Linked DNA regions of Homo sapiens: region 1 is linked to region 2. Evidence: promoter capture Hi-C in human tissues and cell types (Jung and others, 2019). All regions are on one chromosome and are shown on one strand. The core of a region is centred on a gene start or on the middle of the fragment in contact, and the rest is flanking DNA. Distances in the headings are between cores, read along the strand shown. Region 1 overlaps COP1 (COP1 E3 ubiquitin ligase). Region 2 holds the start of TNR (tenascin R).

What was found. The method cuts DNA at HindIII sites, captures the fragments that hold promoters and counts their contacts. A contact is called where the count stands out against the background at its distance.
Region 1: a fragment that was not itself captured here is called in contact with the fragment with the promoter of TNR in region 2 in 2 of the 25 tissues and cell types used here (H1 embryonic stem cells and thymus).

What each region holds. Positions count from the first base shown.
Region 1 is chr1:176,032,778-176,037,858 of GRCh38, forward strand. All of the region lies in intron 14 of COP1 (COP1 E3 ubiquitin ligase), which reads right to left. Among named protein-coding and RNA genes, the nearest start is that of MIR1843, 67 kb to the left of the region's middle. The HindIII fragment of the contact is 5,547 bases long and covers 1-5,081 here.
Region 2 is chr1:175,739,794-175,745,314 of GRCh38, forward strand. TNR (tenascin R) reads right to left here and starts at 3,802. Exons shown (of 23, transcript NM_003285.3): 1 at 3,433-3,802. The HindIII fragment of the contact is 10,162 bases long and covers 1-5,408 here.

The DNA of each region.
Region 1 (5,081 bases), core at 1,426-3,925, 290 kb after region 2:
CTGGAACAAGGTAGGTGAAGGGGAACTACACAAGCATAAGAACACTAGCAGGCAGAGATCCCTGGAGGCCATGATGGATGCTGATCAACATAAGTCTTTAACATTTCATTTAAATTCAGGAGAGAATATACTTAGTAAAGCTTTAACTTATAGGAAAGGTAATTGCCTCTAAAGTTATAAATTATAATAACTGTTATCATAATGCTATTTATTAAGTTATTTAATCTGCTGATGAAAAACTGGAAGCATTACAATCAGCATGAGTTTCACTAACTGATTTCTAAAATCTACCAAGACTTCACAGTTGTCACTTGTGCATTAACTTATGCAACTAAGAAAATTTGGAATGAAGGGCCAGGTGCGGTGGCTCATGCCTGTAATCCCAGCACCTTGGGAGGCCGAGGTGGGTGGATCACTTAAGATCAGGAGTTGGAGACCAGCCTGACCAACATGGTGAAATCCCATCTCTATTTAAAAAAATACAAAATTAGCCAGCTGTCGGGGCGAGGGTGGGGGGAACATGCCTGTAACCCCAGCTACTTGGGAGGCTGAGGCAGGAGAACTGCTTGAACCCGGGTGGTGGAGGCTGCAGTGAGCTGAGATCGTGCCATTGCACTCCAGCCTGGGCAACAAGAGCAAAACTCTGTCTCAAAATAATAATAATAATAATATTAAGGAAATCTGGAATGAAGAAGAACCTGTAACTTCTGCTATCATACAGTCTAAATTCTTCAAACTCACATTTAAAGAAAAATACCTTTAAAGAATGTGTTTAATTCAAAGGCAAGGTTATTTATTGGAAACAATTCTCAGGTTACATATTTAAAAAGGAAAATATATTTCTCCAAAAGAACCTTTAAAATGACTCATAAAATTCCTTTCTGATTAGCTGCCACATAATGATGGTTCTTTAACATGTAATTACGTGCATATATACTTGGAACTAAATTATTTTAAAAATATACAGCATATGTAGGAAAAATATTCATATGAACTCAGTTTTTATTTAAGCAATGAAAAAAATAGCTGTTTAAAAAATTCCTCAGTTAAACATTTACTAAATACAAAATATAGAAAATAAGCAAAATATATTTGTATAAAATAAGTGATTTAAAATATTCTCTAACTATAAAGTTATCACAAAGGCAATATTTTATATGATCGCCAAACAGACAAGAGTAATAAATACATTTAAGTAACACTAAATAATACTCTTAAGATGGGCTTAAAAGCATTTGAGACTTTTACTGCCAAGCTGAGAGAGTAAGCCAATCTCTCTCACTTTGAGTTTACTCTGGACAATATCCAAAAAACAAAAGCAACTATATGAGGAAACTGAAAAAGTAAACAAAAACAGTCATTTCCAGGACAGAATTCTAAACTTAAATGAAATTCGGGATGAAGAGTACCATTTTTCCCCCTCTCTTCTCCCTTGGCAAGCTAAAGTCAGCACCTCAAGCAACAAACACTAAGTAAAATTGTTGTGTTTATTAATGACTTCAGCAAACCAGGGATTGGGAGTAATTTTTTCCTTTTTACTCTTTTTCTCCTCCAACTTTTCCCCATGGGTGGGCTTCAGTCACAGAGCTACAGCAGTATGAGAAGCTAATACTCAGAGTAAAACTCTGTGTATATAAAAAGGAGCATCTGTGATATAACGAATATGAAAAAGGCGAATCCCCATTATATTTTTCTTATTTATTCTCTTGCTTCTTTGCCCTTGTGGTGGGCCCTACTAACAGAATTCAGCAGTAGACTGGGCACTAAAGTCTCCTAAAATGAAACAACCCAACCTTCTTGACAAAGTATCAGTAAAAGGGGGCCCTGGGAGATAAAGAGTCGGGGAGAAACCTGGAAAGAAAGTAATGGAGAAGGAGATTCTACAGTTCTGTGCATTCACTGGCACAGTCACTTCTGAGCTGTGTATGTGCAAGATGGACACAAAGCAGAGCAGCAAATGCTTTGCGCACTGAACTACAGTTGAAAAGATGACCCAAGTCCTAAACTAAGCTCTAACTGGCATGGGCATTAGGCAGACTCAAAGTACCACAGCAAAAGCTCTGAGAAATGAACTGATTGTTTCCTTTGACAAGGCAACAATCACCTAGGGAAAGCAAGACAGAACTTACAGTCTAAATCTAAGCCAACTGATCACCTACTAAGAAATGAAGAAACAAACAAAAAACCAACATTTCCCACACAATTTAAACAGGACCCAACATCTTACAATATAATATTCAAAATGGCTAAGAGACAACCCCAAAATTATTCAACATACAAAAACCCAAGAAAATGTGAAGAATTTTCAAAGGAAAACACAATTAACAAAGGTCAGTCCTAAGGTTTAGATGTTGGATCCCAAGACATTAAATGAAACAGATTTTAAAGCAACTATTGTAATTATACTCCATGGGGTAAAAATAAACAAACTTAAAATTAATGGAAAGATAGAAGTACTCAGAGAATATATAGAAACTATTTTTTTTTTAAAAAGAATCAAATGAAAATTTTTGCAAAATGGAGATGACAGATGAAGGAATCATGAGCTAGAAGACAGAACAATATAAATTACCCAACCTGAAGAGAAAAAAATATTGACAAGAAAAAGAATATGAGGTCTATGAGACAGAACGAAAGGGTCTAATACACTAACATAATTAAAATCCCAGAGGAGAGGAAAAAGAGATTACTAGCAGTAGTTTGATAAGTATGTGACAAAGTAGTTTTCAGAGGAATATTGACAGGGATAGTGATATTATATATTAACAAATGATTCAGTCCACCAAGACATAACAATCCCAAATACATTTATGCCCTTAACAATAGTTTCAAAATATATCAGGTAAAAACACACTTAACACAAAAAAGGTAACTAAACAGAGAAATAAAATCAGACTTTAACATTTCTGTCTCATAATCAATAAAACGAGACCAAAAAAAAAAAAAAAAAAAAAACGCAAGCATACAGAAAATCAGAAATACAGTAGCAACAACTTTGATCTGACACTTACAGAACACTCACCAAACAGCATTTATAGTACAGTTTCTTTTCAATGCATTTGAAATATTTATCAAGGTAGTTCATATTCTGGACCATAAAACAAATAACAAATTAAAAAAGTTAACACTATGTAAAATATATCCTTTAACCATAAGAGGATTAAGTTATAAATCAGCAACAGAATGATTTCTGAAAATTTTAAGGAAATTTAAATATACTTTAAACAATCCATAGATGAACAAGAGAATAACAAGAGAAATCAAACAGAATTTTAAACAGAATGGAAAAGCAAATATACTAGTCATGAAAATAATATAATAGCAAATATAATAGTAAATAGTCATGAAAACTTGGTTTCAAATTTGTTTCAAAATTTGCTAAAGTAGTGCTTAATGGGAAATGTATATAACAAAAAATGTTCAGATTAAAAAGACAGAAGTATCAAATGACATAAACTTCAATCTTCAAAAAACTAGAAAGGGGAGGAAATTAAACCCAAAGCAAGAAGAAAAATGGGCAGAAATCTATGAAATTAAAAATAGAAAATTACAGAAAAATCAACAAAACCAAAAGTTGAGCATTTGAAAAGATTAAGAACCTAATGCCAAGCTGACCTAAATTAATAAACAATAAATAAACGAGAGGACACAAAATACCAATTATCAGGAATAAAAGACAGAAGATGACTTCATCACAGCTTCTCAGAGGTAATGAAAAAAACAAAAAAACAAAAAAAAAAAAAAAAAAAGCATGGCTACAAACCCTAGAGATATGAGTATATTACAAATATAGACAGTCCCCAATTTAAATAGCTCAACTTATGATTTTTTGACTTTACAATGGTGAGAATGCAATGTGCATTCAGTAGGAACCATACTTCCAATTTTGAATTTTGATATTTCACCAGGCTAGTGATATGTGGTATGATATTCTTACCTGTATTATTCAACATTGTATTGTAAAAGTCTTTGTGTTATTTTGCTTAATTGTAGGCCAATGTAAATATTCTGAGCACATTTAAGGTAGGTTAGGCTAAGCTACGATTAGAAGTATTAAATGCATTTTCAATTTATGATGGACTTATTGGGACTGTAATCCCATTGTAAGTGGAGGAGCATTTTATGGACTTTGATGCCCATAAATCTTGTAACAAATAAAATGTATCGATTCCCTGAAGGAAATGAACTGTCAAAAATTACACTCAAGAAGAGACAGATAAGTTTATTAGTTCGAAATCTACTAAGGAAATTAAATTCTTAGTTAAAACCTTCAAACAAAGAAAACTACACGCCCAGAAAGCTTCACTGACAAATTCTACCAAACATTTAAGAACAAAAGAATAGGCCAGGCGCAGTGGCTCAAGCCTGTAATCCCAGCACTTTGGGAGGCCGAGGCAGGCGGATCACGAGGTCAGGAGATGGAGACCGTCCTGGCTAACACAGTGAAACCCCGTCTCTACTAAAAATACAAAAACAAAAATTAGCCAGGCATGGTGGCGGGTGCCCGTAGTCCCAGCTACTCGGGATGCTGAGGCAGGAGAATGGCATGAACCTGGGAGGTGGAGCTTGCAGTGAGCCGAGATCATGCCACTTCACTCCAGCCTGGGCGACAGAGCAAGACTCCGTCTCAAAAAAAAAAAGTATAAGAAAAAAAAAAACACATAGCACATAGAAGAGGAAAATCATTTTATGAGGCCAGCATTACCCTGATATCAAAGTCACGAAAAATTACAAAAACAGAAAAAAAACAACAAAAAAATTCACCCTCTGAAAAAAACAAACAAACAAAAAAACCTCAAGTCAAATCTAGAAATACAGAAAAAGAATAATACATTCATGTTTATCCTGGGAATGTATGGCTAATTCAAGTTTTGAAAGTCAATGACTATAATTCATAATATTAATAAAGAGAAACTACATGATGATACGTGCATAAAAAGTATTTAACAAAATTCAATATCCATCATGATAAAAATTCTCAGCAAACAAGGGAATGGAAAAGAACGTCTTTAAATTGACACAGGTGCCTACTAAAAGCCTAATTTAGTCAGTATATTAAGTGATGAAAAGCTGCAAGATTT
Region 2 (5,521 bases), core at 2,552-5,051:
AACTCTCCTCTTTCTTTCTTTACTAAGCTCACATAGGTACTCTTTCCTCAGCTCACTCTCCTGGAGCCCAGATGGGGAGACATGACCAACCACCAACTTGGAATACTGAATTCTAAGTTTTTAATAAAAATTTCAAAATCATCTCTATGAACTCCATCAAATAACTCAGGTCAGCTCTGAGGCAGTTGCCTGCAGGAGCTTCCACAGTTTCTGTTCACATTTGATTGTTGGTTTCTATAAATGCGGTTGAAATGACCACTTGACTTTCTAACACCATGACCTCAAGGCTGGGGAGCAGAATGTACCCCTCCCACATCTTTGCTACTTACCCAGTAACAATAGCCTCAGAACTCTGAGGTGTTCCCTTGAAAGTCTAGGGTTTACATACCACATCTATTAAGTAATACATTCAGCAATACATTTCTGCTGCAAAATGTAGCAGCATAAGCTATGGTGATACCACATATGCACAAACACAAGTCAGAAAGTGATGGTGTTGGGAGAGGGAGAAATTGGAAAGAAGCACAGGGAACTTTTATACATCTTTTTTGGGGTATACAAGTGTACACAATTGTCAAAACTTAATCTGAATACTTAAGATCAGTGCATTTTATTATATACAAATTATATGTCATTTTTTTCAACAAAAAAAAAGTAATAATGGCGCTTTCCAGGTAAAAGATGGCAACCTATGGCCATGGAGAATAGGGCAGAACAGCTGACCTCCTCCTTCCATCTTTCCCCACCACTGCTCATCTCCCCAGTCCTGGGTGGCAGCCCAGCAGTCTCCCCTACACAGTGAAGGGGGGTTGGGCATGAGAACTTAGTGGCTTTGTCTCCAGATTGCTGGCCAGATATGATGGCCAGGAATGCTGCAGAAGTGGCATTATATGTAAAGTGAGTTTGTATCCAGTTTCCCACTCCTCTTCTAGTGGTTCTATAGGTGGTCAGAGCCCAGCCCTCTCCTGCTCCTTAGTCATCCTTGCCACATTCAGAGCCACAGAGGACTCAATGAAGGTGGTCCCAGAAAAACGTTCTTAGAGAGAACAGTCACCAAACACCCAAAGCCAAGACATCCATGGCAACATGCCCCAGATAGGGTGGCTTCAGCTGGGATTTCTGGGGCATGGTGATGTGACAATCAGGTGCACGACATCAGTTCAGCCTAGATGCCACCAGCCCAGGGTTCTCTCTTTGCAGTAAGCCCAGAGAGCTCTTTACCTGGCTCTTGGCCATCTTCTTAGCTGAGAAGTAAAGGCCAGCAGCACCTTGAGACTTCTGGCTGATTCTCATTCTTCACCAGAGAGAGGCCATTGCTCCACACTGAGTTCCCTAAAAGGCTTTGGCTGCAAGTCTATCCAATGGGGAGCAATCCATTCCTTCTCTCCTGCACATGAGCATTACTGCATTTCCTAGGTGAGGGAATATTAGCAGGCTAGAAGTTCTATTTCTGCTTTCGCTATCCTCTGGCTTCCCACTTTAAGCGTCTGTGTCTCTCCATTTATAAAATGGGTCCAATAATGTCACTGAGCACTTTTTTTTCAGAGAAAATTTAAGGGCATTAATGAGATAATGACTACTAAGTATGGTGACTTCAGTAATAAACTGTGGTTTTGGACAGGGTCCACTGCAAGGGCATAATTTTTTAAAAATCCTCAGTGATGTGTCATGCAGAAATCTATCCACTCACTTGTTCAAACTGGAAGATTTCAAGGACAGGAGGTTTGGAATGTTAAAATACTGAATGAGTCAGTGTTGGTTTCTGATGCTCTGCATTTGTCTATTTCAGTCTTTCTTCCCTACCCTTACAACCTCTGACTTCACTGTCTTCCTGGATGCATTCTACTTCCTGCCACTCTAGGGAGATGCTAAGATTTCTGGATCCAATGCCAAGCATAGTAAAAAAGAAAAGTGGTGCCATTTCACTCAGAACTGTGTCTCTCACCCAGAAGGCTCCCCAGCCAGAGGCAGAGAGTATTTTCTTCATCTTGGAGAAGGGGCCCATTGTGCTGAATTAAAAATAAGACAAAGAATCACCATTCTAGGGTCCATTTGGGGTTGGAAAGAGTGAAACCACCCCACCTTGCCTATGTATCTCCCCTGTCTCAACACACTTGAAGAAAGTGACCAGAACCATAAACAGTTAGGGGTTAAATCAAGGGAAGACTTGCTCCTACAAGAAGCCACATCTCTTTCAAGTTCCCTGTAGGATGCTGGCTCCACGGAGACTTGAATGATTGAAGGAAATCCTCAACACCACTTGTTGAATGACTCAACCAGGTAGGTGTGGCCAGGACTGAATGGGGCAGGGGCAGGCCTATAGTGTCTCCAAGACAATACCAAAGCAGATGCAGGGAATTGACTGAACATACTTCAGAGAGGCAGAAAGCAGGAGAGACAGAGTAATACCTTGCAAAAAGTAGCAGCAGTGAAGAAAGAAGTAATAATGAGCTCCTGTTTGCAGAGCCTCTCAGTGCTGGAGGAGAACAGAGTACCACTTCAAGCCCTCCTGAGTCTGGGACAAGTCTAATTTTGTTTCTGCTCACCCTAGACATATAGAGACAAACCTTTATTCTTAGTTGTTTTTCACTGCCAAATGCCCCAGAAAACAGGGCAGAACAGACTTTGTCTTCTTTCCAACCACCCATAGCCAAAGATGGCATAAAAGTGGAGGGTACCTCCTGCCTCCTTGCAAATGTAATATAACCCACACCAGCCAGTCTCTGCAAAGCTCAAGACACTAGCACTTTCCTACCACCATGAAGTCAGAAGGGACCTCAACCCCCCAAAGCCGCCCCAGCCTGAGCTTCACCTGTTGCACCTGCCCACTTACCATGGGTTCACACCAGAAGAGAAAGTAAAAGGTCAGGTTGGGCTCTCTCCACAGCAAGAGCCCAGAGAATACTAGGAAACTGACATTTTACAAAGCACCTCTTTAAAGCTCTCTCAGAGGTGCGTAACTTTTAACTCTACCTCCACTCCCAACCCCCCAGGCTTCCTTTGCAACTCTTTCCCACCATGGATGGCTTGTCGGGAGAGAGTTAAAGAAGGTGCACGACTAATTCCCCAAACCATCTCGCTTATCTACAGACAAAAAGAACAGCCTTACATGGAGACACGCAGAAACCACCCGCAATTTAGCTCAGACCTCACCTGTCTTATGCAACAGTACACACACACACACACACACACACACACACACCCGCAAGGCCAGAGTCCAATCCCCCTTTAATTCGGTAAACATAGTTTTGCGCCTTTCTTTTCCCTACGCAGAACCCGACTCTACTGGCAGCAGAGAAATAGATGTAACCCTAGTGCCAAATGCCTTGCAGAACACACAGATACACAGGAACCAAAATGCATCTCATAGCTCTCCTTGGTGCTGAAATCACGTTAGCCAGAAAATCAAAGGAGCGAGTGCTCTGGACTTACCCAGGCTGGGGGTGGGCGGCCGGGGAGCGAGAGGAGCTTCCTGGGAAGAAAATTCTTGCTTGCTCAGGCTGGAGCCAGCTGATGCGCTCACCTAGAGAGCCCTCCTCTTTCCCTTCTCTTCCCTTCCTCCTATTCTGGGAGGAAGAGACAAGGCTCCACGAAAGAAATGAAACCCAAGCTGTCAGGGCTACGGGTGGAAGGAGAATGAGGAGGCAACCAAAATAAGATCAAAAAGTCAGGTGGCTTCACTCCACTAGTGGTAATTCCTTGGGTCAGAGAGGACCCCCTTCTCTCACTCTCCCTGGGTCTGCCCGTCTCCTCTGGGTGTTGAGCCAACAGCCTTAGCACAGTCGGTTCCTGCCTCTGACGTGAAAGAGAGGAGGAAGCCTGGGACTGCTTTGCTGTCTCTCTCTCTCTCTCTCTCTCTCTCTCTCTCTCTCTCTCTCTCTCACGCGCTCTCTCTTTTCCCCTCTTGCTGAAATTTCAGCAGCATGATTTTTTTAAGCCTCCGTTTTTTCCATCCCCCTACAAGCAGCCCCCTAGTGGACAGAAAAGAAAAGCATCCTAAATCCTCTTGAACAGTCCAGATTCAGGCACAGAAATACTCCCCGCACCCAACTCTTGGAGCTGCCTCTGCATAGGCAGGGTCCTGAAGAAGATAGAGGCTTCCCTCTGACCAACCCAGATAAGAAGAGAAAGGGAGAGGATGGAAGCTTTTGCAGATCCTTTGCCCATGATTGAAGGAGAAATCCAGGGTGGAATGGGTTGGGATAGAATGTTTTGGAATAAGGTCAGTTGTGGGGTTCTCAAGTGGTTTGAGGTCCGGGCTCAGCAGAAGGAACCCTCCAAAAAGTCAGCGTCTGCAGCCAGGTGAAGTATGTGTATACGTAGCACAACCCAGGCATGGGAATGCCTAAAGAGGCAGAGGATACAGGGAGCTGGCCCTTCATCCAACTCCACAATATAGCTTTTTTGTAAAGCTAGTAAGAAAAATATCTGAAAAGATATGGCCTGAGATCATCTCAGAAGTAGAGACAGAAGTGACCTTGATGCACATTTATGGAGAACCTTGGCAGAGAAGGGGCATCAAGGGGTCACTGCTCATAGGCTCATAAGGGATATCTAACATTCTCTTTTAAATGTACAGCCACACAGCCTCCCGGAAAGAGTCCTAATACTTACATCTAAAAATCTGAGTCCTGGTTTCAGACTGCCACTTGCTTACTGGACATTTTGCTTCTCTATGGCTCAATTTTACTGTTTGTAAAATGTGGATAATGCTGCCCCCTCCCTACTGAATAGGAATGCTAAGGGACTGGAATGATATAGAAACATAGAACCTCAGGATTGGCAGGGAATTTAAAGGTAATCTTATACAAACACTCTTCTTATATTTGATTCACTCCTGGCAAATAACAATAGCTAACATTTATAGAGTGTTTATACCAGGTGCTAGGCACTGTTATAAGCCCTTACATGTATTAGCTCATTTAAGCCATACAATAACTCTATAATGCAGAGGCTATTATTGCTACTCTATAGACTGGGAACTGAGTAACAGAGGAATGAAATAACTTTCCAAAGATCACACAACTAGTGAGTGTCAGGGATGGTAATGGAACCTGAGCCATCTGACCCTGGAGCTTCCTCATTGAATTACCATGTTCTATAAATGTACACTTCAGGAGTGACATTTGAAGTAAATAGAAGATAGCACCACAGTTATCATTGCTTTTATTTATGACAAAGTGCCTAGATTGTTACAATAAATTTATATGTGGCTGAGTTTTTAAAATAAAATATTTACCACTAGGGGTGCCAAACAAACTGTGGAAATTGCTATTACCGATGAGAATCTCCTAAGAAAATTAATTCTCTTGGTGATTTGGGTAGTTTCACATATACAAAACTGGCTTTAAATCTTATAAAATTGGAAACTATTGGGTTTTAACATCAGTTCAGAAGACACATCACTCAATTTCTGTACCAAAAGCAAATTATTGCCCACTGCCTAACACAGTGCAAGAACGGAGCCAGCAATTTGAAGAGCTGAAACGTTGTAATGCATTCAGGTAATAAACGCTCAGTG